Linked DNA regions of Homo sapiens: region 1 is linked to region 2. Evidence: promoter capture Hi-C in human tissues and cell types (Jung and others, 2019). All regions are on one chromosome and are shown on one strand. Each heading gives the region's core, a stretch centred on a gene start or on the middle of the fragment in contact. The rest is flanking DNA. Distances are from core to core; before and after follow the strand shown.

Region 1 (3,107 bases), core at 602-3,101, 310 kb before region 2:
AAACAAGGGACCTGTCCAGGCTTCCTTCTGATGGCCACCTCTAATGCTGGCCAGTCTACCTTACACAAAGTTTTAAGTTTTCCTGGTGTCATAGTACTCCATAGTCTCCCTTAAATCTTTTCTTGAAATTTTTCCACATATTTCCTAGTGTGGTGGGCTTACTTTGTGCCTGACCCATGCTTCCTTGAGACAAAACACCACACTCACACCTCATGCACACCACAAAACAAAGAACGGATAAAAAGGGCACACACGCACTTTTACAGTTTACACCAAACCAGAATCAAAACCAAAATCAGAGTATCAAGAAATCCAAGCCAGGTCAAAACCAAAACCGAAGTATCAAGCAATCCAAGTCAAGTCAAAAACAAAAACCAAAGTGCCGGTACAGGCACGCTGTGGGTGATCAGGCCATGCTTCCACTAAAATGGAGTGGGCAAGGTCTAAAGACCAGTCTTACCAAGTTTCAGATGTCCGGACTCCAAGTGCCAGTTCCTCCTGGTGTTCAGCCACCATATTGATCCTCCATTGGGGTCTGCCATGCTCTGCTCTAACAAGGCATTCCACCAGGGAAAATGCCTACCCAGGAGTGCTCTCAGGATCCATGTTGCTCAAGCTGGCTGCAGTCCCCTGCAGGGATGCTCCACAGAGCAGGCCTAAGCTGCCTAAGGGGCTGCCTAGACCATGTCTGTTAATCACCTCGCTTTCTGGTCAGAATACCAAGCAATGTAGTAGGACAAGACACAGACAAAACCCCTCAGACACTGAGTTGTAGAAGGAAGGGCTTTATTCAGCTAGGAGCATTGGCAGACTCACGTCTCCAAAAACCGAGCTCCCCGAGTAAGCAATTCCTGTCCCTTTTAAGGGCTTACAACTCCAAGGGAGTCTGCGTGAAAGGGTCGTGATTGATTGAGCAAGCAGTGGGGTATATGACTGGGAGCTGCATACACCGGTAATCAGAATGGAGCACAACAGCACAGGGGATTTTCACAGTGCTTGTCTATGCAATGTCTGGAATCTATAGATAAAATAACCAGTTAGGTCAGGGGTCGATCTTTTTTTTTTTTTTGAGACAGAGTCTCGCTCTGTCACCCAGGCTGGAGTGCAGAGGCACAATCTTGGCTCACTGCAAGCTCTGCCTCCTGGGTTCATGCCATTCTCCTGCCTCAGTCTCCTGAGTATCTGAGACTACAAGCGCTTGCCACTATGCCCAGCTAATGTTTTGTGTTTTTAGTACAGACGGGGTTTCACCATGTTAACCAGGATGGTCTAGATCTCCTGACCTCATGATCCACCCGCCTTGGCTTCCCAAAGTGTTGGGATTACAGGCGTGAGCCACTGCGCCTGGCCAGGTCAGGGGTGGATCTTTAACCAGGCCTGAGGCATGGCGCCAGGCTATCTGCCTGTGGATTTCATTTCTGCCTTTTAGTTTTTACTTCTTCTTTCTTTAGAGGCAGAAATTGGCATAAGACAATATGAGGGGTGGTCTCCTCCCTTAGTTTAAAAAAAATACTAGAAATTAAAGCTTCTACGTAGGAATCAGACTCTTTACTCATCATAAGGAAATCCTTGAATTATACTGTCTCGGTTGCAGTAATCAAAAATTCAAAGGCCATACTAACTGGACGCAGACTCAGAAAACAGAAACAGGAAAACAATGGCTTAATTTAGCACACCGAATATTCTTGATATCCTTATCATTAACTGTAACTTAGTTAGCGTGATATTTTTGATCCTTAAGTTTTTAACATCGTATAAAGAATTTTCCATCCAAAGTAACATGAGGCAGAGCTACCTGAATTTCAGTGGTGATAAGACAAAAATATTTTGGCCCACAGCTTTCGCAGGAACACTCTGAAGGAAAGTTAACTCTGTGAAGTTTAATTTCTATCTTCCTTGGCCTACATTTTTTTCTAAGGTAGTGATTTTCAGTGACCTGAAACCCAAGCTGCGCCTGCCCTTTTCAATGACTAAATGGTTACAAACCAAAAAAGGTTGAACACTGACTGACAGGGGAGAGCTAGCAACTCTACTTCCTGTGTTACTTCTCAAAGTGGGGTCTGGGAACACCCTGGGGTACATGGATCCACAGGATACGGACTGGCCTCAGAAAGGCAATACCATCCAGTGTGGTGAGGGTGCAGGGACAGCAGTGTTCTCACTACTGCTGCTGAGACTGTGAAATGGCACAACCTTCTGTGGGAAAAGCAATATTCATTACAGTTTACAATGCAGGCCCTTTGACTCAGTAATCTTACTTCTAATTATTTATACCTGAGCAAATGTACGCACACATAAGTGCATATTTACTGCAAATCTCAGCTAAAGTCATTATTAGCTAAAGGTCTTTAATTAGGCTTAGGGTTGTTATCCACATTTCAGATAGTATAAATACTACCATTCATTAATAATGTTAAGTTACGTTGCTAAAAATTGTTTTTACACCTTAGGTTAGGCATGTGCAGGAATTCAATGGCTACAGGTTACATGGCATTAGTCTGGCTTTAGCTATATGATGAGGAAAATTAGGAAGTCCATTCTAAGATATGTCGTGTTTGGTAAGGACATTCTAAGCAAATTAGGAAGGCAGGTGCAGGGAAGAAAAAACGGTATTCACACATCCTCCTCCAGAATATCACAAGCCAAATGGATGCGGGACATGTCTACTTGACAGGACTCTGATTTTAACTTCCTGGATTGTAAGCTCCAAAGTTTTATACAGGAGTTGTCAAACCCAGCAGCAAGCAGCTTGCTATCAGGGGAGATTTCTGCAGTGTTCAACAGCTGCTAGGTGTTATAGAAGCAGACGGTAGTGAGGGAGGGACACCCATCCTTGACTTGCTTAATGCGCTCCTGTAAGACCTCCAGGGCAGCATCGTTCTGCAGAATAGGGCTGGGCATATCAGGGGCCTCCAAGTAATTGTTCTCACTGCGGGAGGAGCTGCCACTTGCATACAGCTGTTAGTCTGTTGTCTTGGCAGGCTGCACATCAAGATGAATAAGTAAGATAAACATTTTGCACAGGGCAGTATAGCTGTCACTTTGGAGGTAGTGGATAAGGTAGTTGTAGCTGTCTTCTTGGAGATGGACCACGTAATTGTTATCTA
Region 2 (3,224 bases), core at 446-2,945:
ATCAAAAGAAGAGAAGGAAAGAAAACAATGTATAAGATACCTGAGCTCTCCCTCTCCCTCTCCCTCTCCCCACGGTCTCCGTTTCCCTGTCTTTCCACGGTCTCCCTCTGATGCGGAGCCGAAGCTGGACTGTACTGCTGCCATCTCGGCTCACTGCAACCTCCCTGCCTGATTCTCCTGCCTCAGCCTGCGATTGCAGGTGCGCACCGCCACGCCTGACTGGTTTTCGTATTTTTTTGGTGGAGACGGGGTTTCGCTGTGTTGGCCAGGCTGGTCTCCAGCTCCTAACCACGAGTGATCTGCCAACCTCGGCCTCCCGAGGTGCCGGGATTGCAGACGGAGTCTCATTCACTCAGTGCTCAATGTTGCCCAGGCTGGAGAGCAGTGGCGTGATCTCGGCTAGCTACAACCTCCACCTCCCAGCCGCCTGCCTTGGCCTCCCAAAGTGCCGAGATTGCAGCCTCTGCCCAGCCGCCACCCCGCCTGGGAAGTGAGGAGCGTCTCCGCCTGGCCGCCCATTGTCTGGGATGTGAGGAGCCCCTCTGCCCGGCTGCCCAGTCTGGGAAGTGAGGAGCGCCTCTTCCCGGCCGCCATCCCATCTAGGAAGTGAGGAGCGCCTCTTCCCGGCCGCCATCCCGTCTAGGAAGTGAGGAGCGTCTCTGCCCGGGGGCCCATCGTCTGAGATGTGGGGAGCGCCTCTGCCTGGCCGCGACCCCATCTGGGAGGTGAGGAGCGTCTCTGCCCGGCCGCCCCATCTGAGAAGTGAGGAGCCCCTCCGCCCCGCAGCTGCCCCATCTGAGAAGTGAGGAGCCCCTCCGCCCGGCAGCCGCCCCGTCTGAGAAGTGAGGAGCCCCTCCACCCGGCAGCCGCCCCGTCTGGGAAGTGAGGAGCTTCTCTGCCCGGCAGCCGCCCCGTCCAGGAGGGAGGTGGGGGGCAGCCCCCGCCGGGCAAGCTGCCCCGTCTGGGAGGGAGGTGGGGGGTCAGCCCCCGCCCGGCCGCTGCCCCGTCCGGGAGGTGGGGGGCACCGCTGCCCGGCCGCCCCTTCTGGGAAGTGAGGAGCCCCTCTGCCCGGCCACCACCCCGTCTGGGAGGTGTACCCAACAGCTCATTGAGAACGGGCCATGATGACGGTGGTGGTTTTGTGGAATAGAAAAGGGGGAAAGGTGGGGAAAAGATAGAGAAATCAGATTGTTGCTGTGTCTGTGTAGAAAGAAGTAGACATGGGAGACTTCATTTTGTTCTGTACTGGGAAGGGTTCTTCTGCCTTGGGATGCTGTTGATCTGTGACCTTGCCCCCAGCCCTGTGCTCTCTGGGGCATGTGCTGTGTCCACTCAGGGTTAAATGGATTAAGGGCGGTGCAAGATGTGCTTTGTTAAACAGATGCTTGAAGGCAGCATGCTCGTTAAGAGTCATCACCACTCCCTAATCTCAAGTACCCAGGGACACAAACACTGCAGAAGGCCGCAGGGTCCTCTGCCTAGGAAAACCAGAGACCTTTGTTCACTTGTTTATCTGCTGACCTTCCCTCCACTATTGTCCTATGACCCTGCCAAATCCCCCTCTGCGAGAAACACCCAAGAATGATCAATAAAAAAAAACAAAAAACAAAAAAAGAAAGAAAAGAAGCAGAGTTGGACTCAGTGGGAAAATAGGCGTGCTACCACCTCAGGAGAGTTCCAGGGAAGAATCCCACCCCCACTCCAATGAGGTCACAATGGCTGGAGCTCTGAGGGGCCCAGGCTCCCTGAGCCAGGAGGAGAGGAGAAAGTCCAAGGAAAGATGGCTGGCAGTCACCCCTATTTCAACCAGCCTGACTCCACACACCCATCGCCGCCCTCCGCTCCACCCAGCCTCCGCTGGTACCAGCGCTGCCAGCCCTCTGATGCCACCAGTGGCCTGCTGGTGGCCCTGCTGGGTGGGGGCCTGCCTGCTGGCTTCGTGGGCCCCCTTTCTCGTATGGCTTACCAGGCTTCCAACCTGCCCTCGCTGGAGCTGCTCATCTGGCGATGCCTCTTCCACCTCCCTATTGCCCTGCTACTTAAACTGCGTGGCGACCCCCTTCTGGGAACTCCTGACATCCGAAGCCGGGCCTTCTTCTGTGCCCTGCTCAACATCCTCAGCATTGGATGTGCCTACAGTGCGGTTCAGGTGGTGCCCGCTGGCAACGCTGCCACTGTTCGCAAAGGTTCTTCCACCGTCTGCTCCGCCGTCCTCACTCTCTGCCTTGAGAGCCAGGGTCTCAGTGGCTACGACTGGTGTGGACTGTTGGGCTGCATCCTAGGACTAATCATCATTGTGGGACCTGGACTCTGGACACTACAGGAGGGGACCACGGGTGTCTACACCGCCCTGGGCTATGTGGAGGCTTTCCTGGGAGGCCTGGCGCTGTCCCTGAGGCTTCTGGTCTATCGTTCTCTGCACTTTCCCCCCTGCCTCCCAACAGTGGCCTTCCTATCTGGCTTGGTGGGGCTGCTGGGCTCTGTGCCAGGCCTCTTTGTGCTGCAGGCCCCCGTGTTGCCCAGTGACCTCCTGAGTTGGAGTTGTGTGGGGGCAGTGGGGATCCTCGCCTTGGTCTCCTTCACATGTGTGGGCTATGCGGTCACCAAGGCCCACCCTGCCCTGGTGTGCGCTGTCCTACATTCCGAGGTGGTTGTGGCCCTTATACTGCAGTATTATATGCTCCATGAGACTGTGGCACCTTCTGACATCGTGGCGGCAGGGGTTGTGCTGGGCAGCATTGCCATCATTACAGCCCAGAACCTCAGCTGTGAGAGGACAGGGAGGGTGGAGGAGTGAGATAGAACTTGGGAGCCCGGGGGTTGGGAGGGACAGGGATAAATAAAGGCAAAGACTGAAGACAAACATGGGAGGAGAAGTGACTGGAAAAGAACTGGTGTGGGAGAGGGATACCTCTCAGAGTCAAGGGTGACTTGGGGACTTGGTGGAGAGGGACTACGTGGAAGACCTGGGGCCAGCCTGGGACCAAGGGATGTGGAGTCCAGGCTGGGTCCTAGAATCAGGGCATAACTAAGGGGTAAAGTCTGAGGAGCAGATCCAAAGGGCTGAGGCAGGGAGGCCGTGGGCCATGGGGAGGACTTCACTCAGCAGCAAAGAGAAGAGCATTGGGGCTGGAGTGTTCCGGCAAAGACAGAGCCAGCAGCTGCGCTGGGGGAGGGAAGCGTGCCTCCCCACCCCTCCCCTCACGGGGAAGGTTTCCTTTCCT

What was found. Contacts are between HindIII fragments. The study calls those that stand out against the background at their distance.
Region 1: a contact is called between a fragment that was not itself captured here and the fragment with the promoter of SLC35G3 in region 2, in 2 of the 25 tissues and cell types used here (mesenchymal stem cells and spleen).

The regions. Positions count from the first base shown.
Region 1 is chr17:35,498,691-35,501,797 of GRCh38, reverse strand. All of the region lies in intron 2 of SLFN12L (schlafen family member 12 like), which reads left to right. It also overlaps the pseudogene TAF5LP1. Among named protein-coding and RNA genes, the nearest start is that of SLFN12L, 37 kb to the left of the region's middle. The HindIII fragment of the contact is 5,568 bases long and covers 1-3,107 here.
Region 2 is chr17:35,192,864-35,196,087 of GRCh38, reverse strand. It overlaps SLC35G3 (solute carrier family 35 member G3), which reads left to right and starts at 1,695. Exons shown (of 1, transcript NM_152462.2): 1 at 1,695-3,224. The coding sequence starts at 1,781. The coding sequence ends at 2,797. The HindIII fragment of the contact is 5,493 bases long and covers 1-3,224 here.